2 separate regions of the Homo sapiens genome follow, and region 1 is linked to region 2. The links are contacts of gene promoters, found by promoter capture Hi-C in blood cells and fetal thymus (Javierre and others, 2016). All regions are on one chromosome and are shown on one strand. The core of a region is centred on a gene start or on the middle of the fragment in contact, and the rest is flanking DNA. Distances in the headings are between cores, read along the strand shown.

Evidence for each region. The method cuts DNA at HindIII sites, captures the fragments that hold promoters and counts their contacts. A CHiCAGO score of 5 or more calls a contact.
Region 1: a fragment that was not itself captured here is called in contact with the fragment with the promoter of KIAA1614 in region 2 in 10 of 17 cell types (megakaryocytes, fetal thymus, erythroblasts and 7 more); the score reaches 16.4 in megakaryocytes.

Annotation. Positions count from the first base shown.
Region 1 is chr1:181,166,670-181,171,812 of GRCh38, forward strand. No RefSeq gene overlaps it. Among named protein-coding and RNA genes, the nearest start is that of LINC01732, 5.2 kb to the right of the region's middle. RefSeq lists silencers at 63-112, 123-192. The HindIII fragment of the contact is 966 bases long and covers 1,817-2,782 here.
Region 2 is chr1:180,910,970-180,915,709 of GRCh38, forward strand. It overlaps KIAA1614, which reads left to right and starts at 1,928. Exons shown (of 9, transcript NM_020950.2): 1 at 1,928-2,324. The coding sequence starts at 2,275. It overlaps LINC02816 (long intergenic non-protein coding RNA 2816), which reads left to right. Exons shown (of 4, transcript NR_185877.1): 4 at 1-3,087. RefSeq lists a silencer at 1,724-2,023. The HindIII fragment of the contact is 8,183 bases long and covers 1-3,032 here.

The DNA of each region.
Region 1 (5,143 bases), core at 1,050-3,549, 260 kb after region 2:
TGCCGACCCTGTAGTGGCTCTGCATGTGGGCTGGGCGGAGTGTCTTCACAGTTAATGGCTGTGTGAACGCTCACATTTTATATACGCCACTGCTCTCTAGTGGTCAACCCAGGCATCAACTCTGTAGTCTGGAACAGTGAGTAAAGCCACCCCAAGCCGTTCATAGCAAACATTAAGGTTCTCATAGTCATAACTTTCCTACCATTCATGGAAAAAAAAGTTCAAGTCCTGTTTATTTGGTCTTTCAAAGCCAAATATATTATATTTATTTATATAATCAGAAACTATATATCTACCTCTGTATGTAGAGGTACACACATTCTCCCATTGAAGTTGATCATTTAAGCACCACTGTCCCATAGAAATATCACACAGGGCTGAGGCCAGGCATGGTGGCTCATGCCTGTAATCCCAGCACTTTGGGAGCGTAAGGAAGGAGAATTGCTTGAGCCCAGCAGTTTAAGACCAGCCTGGGCAACATAGCGAGACCCTGTCTCTACAAAAAATAAAAAAATTAGCCAGCGGTAGTGGTGCACATCTGTAGTTCCAGCTACTCGGGAGTCTGAGGCAGGAGGATCACTTGAGCCTGGGAGGTTGAGGCTGCAGTGAGCCGTGATTGTGCCACTGTACTCCAGTCTGGGTGATGAGACTCCATCTCCAAAAAAAACAAAAAAACAAAAAAAACCCAGAAATATAACATGAGCCACATAGTAACTTAAAATTTTCTAGTTGCCGCATTAAAAAATAAAAAACATGTTAAATTCATTTTAATGATATAATTTATTTAACCGAATATATCTAAAATATTATCATTTCAACATGTAATCAATGTAAAAATTACTCACCAGATATTGTATATTCTTTTCTTGATAAGTTTTTGAAATCTGGTATGAATTTTACACTTATAGCACACCTCAGTTCAGACCAGCCTCACTGCAATTGTGGGTAGCCACATGGGACTAGTGGCTACTGCTTTGGACAGCAAAGGTCAAGGGCGGTGGTTTCCAAACTCCGTCCTTGCTCTTGCAATCTCCGGGGAGGGGAGAGGAGCTGAAGTTTAAGTTGATCACCAATGGCCAGTGGCTTTATCAATCATGCCTCATAATGAAGCTTCCATAAAAACCCAAAGAGACAGTGTTCGGAGAACTTCCGGATAGCCGAACACGTGGAGGTTCTTGGAGGGTGGCGTGCTCAGGGAAGGTATGGAAGCTCCATGCTTCTTCCCCCATACCTTGCCCTATGCCTCTCTTTGTTTATATTCTTTGTAATATCCTTCATAATCTGGTAAACATGTTTCCCTGAGTTCTGTAAGCCACTCTGGCAAATTAATCAAACCTAAAGAAATGTGGAAAGCCCAGCTTGAGGATCTGTGACTGGTGTCTGGAGGAAGAGGGAGGCATTCTTGTGGGACTGAGCCCTCAACCTGTGGGATCTGATGCTATCTCCAGGTAGACAGTGTCCGAATTGAATTGGAAGATACCCCTGCAGCTCACGTCTGCTGCTGAATTGATTGCTTGCATGTTGGTGGGGTAAAACCACCGAGTATTTGGTCACAGAAGTCTGTTGTTTTTTGAGACAGAGTCTTGCTCTGTCACCCAGGCTGGAATGCAGTGGTGCAACCTCCGCCTCCTGGATTCAAGCAATTCTCATGCCTCAGTCACCCAAGTTGCTGGGATTACAGGTGTGTACCACCACAGCTGGCTCATTTTTGTATTTTTAATAGAGAAGGGGTTCTTACCATGTTGGCCAGGTTGGTCTCGAACTCCTGGCCTCAAGCTATCTGCTTGGCTTGGCCTCCCAAAGTGCTGGGATTATAAGCTTGAGCCACTGAGCCCGGCCAAAAGTCTTCTGTATTGATGTTGTTGGTGGTGTGAGAGCAGAAGAAACATTGTTCACGTTTGTTCCACTCACCTTGGCTGTTGCCACACACCTTGGAGGATGGCATTGCAATTTTGTGTGCCTCCTTTTAAATGCAGAGCAATGGAAGCTGATAAAATATAAGAAGAGAAAGCCACTGTTTTATGGGGAAGGTCGTTAATATCCTCCCAGGCTTTTAACAGGCCTAAATCTGAGGTGGTACTGGATCAGTTTGTCCCATTTCATGGGGCTGAGGGACAGAGGGGGAAGAATCTTTTTTGGGAGCAGCAGTTTTCCCCTCTGTACTCTGGAAGGAGCATCTTCTTGCAGTTGCTCCAAGTTGCAGACTGGTCTCAGGGTCCTCTCATCTCTAATTGGTGTCCCCCTTGGTTCATCTGTCTGACTGCATGTCCTAGCAAGTCACAGTCCTATCCCAGGCATCAAGGCTGAATTTCAAGGTGTCCTTAAGGTATGTCTTCTGGTCACCCTGTTTATAAATGCAGGCCTTAATTCTCCACTCAGCAGCCTCTACGGCACTCATTAGTAGCTGTGTTTCTTTTTTCAAATATAACCTTTATGGTAGAGTCATAATATGGAAAAGATGCCAGCAGATTGAAATTTTGTAAATCAAATAATTTTGATTGCTCTGGGAGCTCACAATTTAAGGAATCCTGTGGTGAATTCTTTTGTAGACCGAGTAATCAGCCCTCTCTTTGTTTTAAAAATTCAAGTTTTAATATATTATCTTGCCTGAGGGAGATGATTCCACACATATTAAAAATAAAAAAGATGCAAAGAAAAGATCCCATCTTCATGCTCCCCTTCCATATTTAAGTGGCAGTCTGTAATCACAATTATCCGGCTCTCAAGCAATTACACTAAATATTAATGAAAGAACCCTAGTCACACAACTGCGCCCAAGGGAAGCTTCTGCCTGAAAGTCAGGGTTAATGGCCTCACAATCGTTTTAATGGATTTTCAATGAAGTGTGAAGATGACAGGCCAACAAGGGTGAGGTTCCATGACAGAGCACAATTAGCATCTTCCCATTAGTACCTGACCTTGTTTCTATTTTTATTTCTTTACAATCCTGGTGAACTGATTCCCTGAGTATGTATTTATTAGTTTATGTTGAACACAACTCATAAGACCTTTGTTAACTCAGAGTAAGAGCGCCCATCTCCACTGCTTCTGCGGGAGAGGTGTTATAGCTTTGTTCCGTGGGGGGTATTGGTAAAGACCCTCCTGATGATGTTTAGACAGCAAGGCTGATGCCCGCACATTCTAATGACTGACACGCTGCTGCTTTCTACTGGCCCTTTCTAACTCCCTGGCCCCCTTGTGTTCCACCCTTGTGACTCCAACCCCTGAAGAACTCGGCCTGAGACACCCAGCTCCCAGTGCCTGATCCTCTGTTGTTTCTTTGTCCTCTGGAGTAATTGCTAGTGGTTACAAGCTCAGCCCCTGGAATCACATTGATTGGGATGGAATCCTTCCTCTACTAGCTGTGTCTTTTGGCAAGTCACTTGATCGTTTGGTGCCTCAGTTTCCTCAGCTGTAAGATCAGCCTTTAGTGCCTGTGGGCAAGCCAAGGGCCTTCTGTGGAACTCCTCCAGGGTGCCCTGTCTTCCTCCCGCATTTTGAGTCCACGTTCTTAAACCCCAGGAGTTTCCTTGACTCCCCTCTTAGCACTTCTGGGGACTCAGATTTTGCTCCGAATCTCTGGTTCCCTGACTGAGTCCCCTCTTTCAGAAAGGCTGCAGAAACTCTTTTTCCTTGTTTTAAAATTGGTGTTCTAACCTAGGGATTGGCAGACTATGGCCTGCCAACCACATCTAGCCCACAACTTATTGTTATAAATAAAGTTTTATTGGAACAAGCCAGGCTTATTCATTTATGTATTGTCTATGGCTGCTTTCAGGCTGCCACAGCAGAAGTGCGTAGCTGTGACAGAGACAGTGGCTCACAAGTCTAAAATATTACTATCTGGCTTTTTCCAGAAAATGTTTACCAACCCTTTCCTGTGTCCAACCCTTGAAACGTTTACCAACCCTTGAACTGTGTCCCCACAGAAAGATATGTTGAAGTCCTAACCTCCAGTACCTCAGAACGTGACCTTATTTGGAAATAGGGTCTTCACAAAGATAATCAAGTTAAAATAAGTTCATTAGGGTGGGCCTTAATCAATATGAGTAGTGTCCTTATGAAAAGGGGAAATTTAGACACAGAGACAAACGCACACACAGGGAAGATGTTGTGAAGACAACACCCTGTGAAGAGGCAACACCCTGTGAAGAGCGAGGCATCTATGCCTGAGGCTACCAGAAGCCTGTAGGGAGGCCTGGAACAGCTCCTTTCTGAGGGCAACGTGGTCTTAGACTTTAGGCCTCTAGAGCTGTGAGACAATAGATTTCTGTTTTTTTAAGTCACCTGGTATGTGGCAGTTTGTTATGGCAGCCCTAGGAAATGAATGCACTGCCTAACCAATTCTTTTCTTTATTCCTTGTTGTTCTTTTATGTAACACATTTGTATGTTGTGCCAGGTCACTTCAAGGTGGCCCTCATACATGAGGTAATGGTGTCACCACCCAGTGTGTTCATTTTGCCTGCTGCCCAGAAAGAGCTGAAGATCAACACTGGGGAATTGCAATAGAGAAAGAGTTTAATTCACGTAGAGATGGCTAAACAGGAGACCAGAGCTATATTATAACTCAAATCAGCCTCCCCCAAATTTTGGAGGCTAGAGTTTTTCAAGGTTATTTTGGCAGGCAGGGGGAATGGGTGTTGCTGATTGGTTGGGGATGCAATCCTAGGGCTGCGGAAAACAGTCCTTGTGTGTTGAGTCCACCTCTGGGTCGGGGAGCCACAGGCTGGCTGAGTCTTGAGCCACTTGTCCAGGTGGGTAAGTCTGAAAAAGATCTCAAAAGACCAGTCTTAGGTTCTGTGATAGTGCTGTGATCTGCAGAATTAACTGGGGAGGTTGCAAATTTTCTGACCTCTGGAATAATGGCCAGTAATCGTTTATGTCTACACCTCAGCAGCATCTAGTCTCTTCTCATCCTCTTAACCTGGTGGCCTTTCATTCATAGATTTTCATTAGTAAACCACCTTTCATTTCAAAGGCAGTTTAGTTTTGGGGAAGGGCTATTACCATTTAAACTGTAAACTAAATGTCTCCCAAAGGTAGCTTGGCCCATGCCCAGGAATGATGGAGGAAAGTTTGGAGGTTAAAGACAAAATGGGGGTTGGTTAGATCAGATCTCTTTTGCTGTCATAATTTTCTGTT
Region 2 (4,740 bases), core at 678-3,177:
GAAAGAATTCAGGGCAAGGCTGGGCGTGGTGGCTCATGCCTGTAATCCCAAACTTTGGGAGGCCGAGGCAGGTGGATCACTTGAGGCCAGGAGTTCGAGACCATCCTGGGCAACATGGTGAAACCCCATCTCTACTAAAAATACAAAAAGTAGCCAGGCGTGGTGGTGCATGTCTATAGCCCCAGCTACTCAGGAGGCTGAGGTGGGAGAATCCATCGCCCCACTGCCCTCCAGCCTGGGCAACAGAGCAAGACTCTGTCTCAAAAAAAAAAAAAAAAAAAAAAAAGCAAGGTGCGTTCACAGTGCAAAGCAAAAGCAAGTTTAGTAAGAAAGTAAAGTGGTGAAAGTACAGCTACTCCATAGACAGAGGAGGGAGTTCTGGAAAGTACGAGGAGGAACGCATCCACCCTGGGTACAATACTCGCTTACACAGGATAAAAAAGGATCATGGGGAGATGTGCTGTGCTACAAGGGTTTGTGATAAAGGATTAATTTTCTTAGTTACTATATTTTGCAATAATCGATATTATTAACTTTAAAGCATAATTACAAATGAGTCTGTTCTCAAGATATCAGGATATCAGGACACTCCTAAGTCTGGGTCTGTTTAGCAAACGTTATTAATTTGTTCTCTTAACCGTAAATATCTAGAAGCTGGGTATAGCTAACTCACTGGGAATGTGGCCCAGCAAGTCCCAGCCTCATTTTCCTCGCCCTCACACAAGATGGAGTCGCTCTGGTTCGAAGCCTCTGACGTAACCTTGGGCCTGTACTGTGACACAGAGGGTTTGCACTGGATAATCTCTCAAGCTCCTAGATTGCCAAGACGCCAGTCCACTCACAGCTCCCCAGGCTCCGCTCTCCTGTTGCCCTGCCAGACGCCCCTTCCCCCACCTTGTGCAGAGTAACCCCCTCCTGACTCAAGAGGCAGCCCCTCTAGAAAACTTCCTTCCCCTCCTCCCCTGCCCCGGTACATATTGCGCGGCCCTTACTGTTGCTGTGTCTGTCCTGTCATCTGGAGGTGCACAACTACCCCATGCTTCACAGTGAAGCCAGTCGGCTGAAGGAAAGATGAACGGGCACTTTCTCTTTGTAGAGATTTCCGGAATCTCCTGAGGCCACTTTTATTGCTTCCCGTCTTTGTGAAAAAATAGGCTTGGAAATAGGTGAGGCTCGGTCACCCCCTCTGGGTGGAAGGAGAAAGCAAGCTCCGTCGGTTTGGGCCGCGGCTGCAGGGAATGCCCCTGGTTGCGACCCCCGTCCCGCGCTGGGGAAAGTGATCTGCTCGAGAGCCCCCAGGACCCTGAGAACCGGTCCCCACCCAAGGCGGCGGCGGGCAATTCCGGCACCGCGGCAGACGGGATGCGCGGAGCGCGTTCCCTCCGGGTTTCCCTCACGCCTCTGGAGAGCGGGAACCAACGACCTTGACCTCGGAGGAAACGGCTCTACGGAGCGATGGACGGCCCCACAGAGAGGGCGGCCGGCTCCTCTGGAAAACTTGTCCACACAAAAGGCATTCCTCAGCTTCCACCCCGAAAGGCGAGCCCTGGGTGTAGGGTTACCAGCGGCGCGCGGAGCCCGCCGAGAACGTGGTGCGCCCCCAGCTCCTGCCCGCGCTCCCCGGCCTCCGTGCGCCCCGCGCGCCTCCGCTCTTGCGCCCGCTTTCCCGCGGGGAAGGGGCCACCGCCCTGCGAGGCTGGCGGCCGCCCCGTCGTCCCCAAGCTCGGGGCCGCCCTGGACTTCCATCCCGCGCCTCTGACGGCCGGGGACACTCGCTCCCTGGGCCGCGGCTCAGGAGAGGCGGCCCCGCGGGGCTCCGGGCGGGGTGGGAGGCCGAGGCCCGGCTCCTCCAGCCCCTCCCGCGGCCCCACCTCTCCGCGCTCGGCTCCCTCTGCCCAGCGCGGGCCGGGAAGGCGCGGGCTTGGCCGCTCTTCCCCTCCACGGCAAAGCCGTGAACGGACAGCTGATGCCACTTCCTTCCCTGCCAGCGCCCTCCCTGCCCGACCCCGCTTCCCGTCCTCTCGCCGGGAGGGAGTGCGGCCCGTGGGGCGCTGCGCCGGCCAGACCCACCCGGGGCCCGGGGGCTGCCAGCAGAGCCGGGAGCTGGCCCGGCCTCGGCGCCGTCCCGGACCCCCAGTCGGCCGCGCCCCGAGGGGCGAGGCCTGCGGGCCGCACTCCCTCCGGCCCCGGATTCGGGGCTGGAAGTCCCTCCCCGAACCCAGCAGCTGGCCTGGGAGGGAGAAGGGGCTGGAGAGGGCCTGGCCTCTCCGAGGGATGGAGGGGACAGAGGCGGCGGCGGCCAAACCCGCGGGCGGCAGCCCCCAGTGAGTATAGAGGAGGCAGCGCCGGGCCGGCCGGGCGGGGGTGGCGGACCGGCGGGGCGGAGGAGCGGGGAGCCCAGGTCGCCCCGGCCACTGGGAAGCGGGCCTCCCACGGGCTCGGAGCTGGAAGGGTCGTGGGGAGGCCCGCCCTTCACGTCCATCTTCGTTTGGCCCCTCTGAGTTAGGGGAAATACATCACAGTGCTTGGGCCATAGAACCAGGCAGCTCCGAGCTGACCGATCTTCCCGAAAGCCCGTGCCCAGGGGACTCCAGTGGGAGGGTCTCATTCTTTAAGGTCTCTGGCGTGCTGTTCCAGAGTTTACCCATCAACAATTCTTACTTTAATTTTTTGGAGCCAGGGTCTCGCTCTGTCGCCCAGGCTGGAGTGCAGTGGTGCGATCATGGCTCACTGCAACCTCGACCTCCCGGGCTCAAGCCCGGCCTCCTCTGGCTTCAGCCTCCCCAAAAACAAAAAGTTATTTTAACTTAACAGAAATTGCTCATATTACATTCTAATCCCCTGTTTTCTGGATTGGACTTTAGAGGAGAAGAAGGAGATGCAAAGAGAAACTTGCTGCATTCTAGATTAACTCATAGAACAAATTATTTCTGTCCTCCTAAAGATAATCCTTAAACTTTACTGGCTTAAAACTGGTGTGACATTTCGCATTATATGTGTATTTTGCTTTATAAAATATGTGCATTCCTGAAAGCTTGTGTATAAATTGAATTGTAATAAACGACTACAGAGAGACTTGCCATTTAAGAGAATTTTATGGTGAATACTTGGTCCGTGTTACGAAGTGGATAACTCCTAATTTGTAGTGTATACACATAAGGATTTTTATGCACAAAGTTTACTTCAAGGGGGGGGGGACATCTAGATGTGTGATATTAAAGTTGTATTTTTCTCAGAAGGTAGAATCAATATTAAAACGCTGTGGCATGTAGATATGCATGCAACACCCTGAGTCAAACCCCTGCTCACCTTCATTCCTTGTGAAGGGATAAACATCAGCCATGCTGCTAAGGATCTGTGCAGCGCTGACAAGCCACCTAGCCTCTGGGGATGGAACATTATCATTTACAGAATAAGGGGAGTAGGGTTAAGTGATCACTACATGTTTTGGAAAAGGCCTGGGCTTGGAATGAGAAGCTTTGGTTTCCAAACTGGGCCTCCTCTTAGCACCTGTGTATTGTAATCTGTGCCTCAGTTTCTCCATCTGTAGAAGTATATAATAAAGCCATTCTTTCTTTTCTTTTCTTTTCTTTTTTTTGAGACAGAGTCTCGCTCTATCGCCCAGGCTGGAGTGCAGTGGCGGGATCTCGCCTCACTGTAACCTCCGCCTTCTGGGTTCAAGTGATTCTCCTGCCTCTGCCTCCCAAGTAGCTGGGACTACAGGCACCTGCCACCACACCCAGCTAATTTTTTGTATTTTTTATTTTTATTTATTTTTTTTATTTTTGAGACAGAGTCTTGCTCTGTCGCCCAGGCTGGAGTGCAGTGGTGCAATCTTGGCTCACTGCAACCTCTGCCTCCCGAGTTCAAGCAATTACCTTGCCTCAGCCTCCTGAGTAGCTGGGACTACAGGTGAGCAGCACTCCTGACCTCAGGATCCACCCGCCTCGGCCTCCCAAAGTGCTGGGATTACAGGTGTGAGCCACCGCGCCTAGCCAATTTTTTGTATTTTTAATGGAGGAGGGGGTTTCACCATGTTGGCCAGGCTGGTCTCGAGCTCCTGACCTCAAGTGATCCACCCGCCTCAGCCTCCCAAAATGCTGGGATTACAGGTGTGAGCCACCGCTCCTGGTCAATAATGCCATTGTGTTAGGGACAGGATTATTGGGGGGAGTGTGTTTGAAAGCACTTGCAGTCCCGCCTGGCATAGAGCAGATGCCTAATCGGCGTTCCTGACTGGTCAAGGTCTCCCTTTGAGCTCAACCCCATGCTGTGGTCCTGTGGCTTGTGCATCAGGGGTCAGGGGTGAGGTTGGATGCAGCACCTTCTACTGGAGGTCAGATCCTGCTTGGTGTCTTCCTGATGTCTATCATCCTCATTGGCTCCCCTTGGAGAGGGAAGAGCATGTTGCCTGTTAGCAGATGCGGGCATCCTCCACTGAAGCTACCCTTCAGCAAAGTAAGAGGCCAGGGATTGGGAAATCACCCTGGTTTTCACTCTGGTCCACATTTGGCATAGGATTAGTTGTCCTCTGAAGCTTCATTTTGCCCGTCTATAAAATGGGGATAGAAAAACTAGAACACTACTGAGACTTGGAAGAAAAAATTCAACAATAACTTATTTGCACTCTTCAATGACTTGCATTTTTTTAAAAGTGCTTTCACGTTATCTATAGCAGGGCTCCCCAACCCCCGGGGCCACGAACCAATAGCGGTCCACAGCCCATAGCAGTCTGTGGCC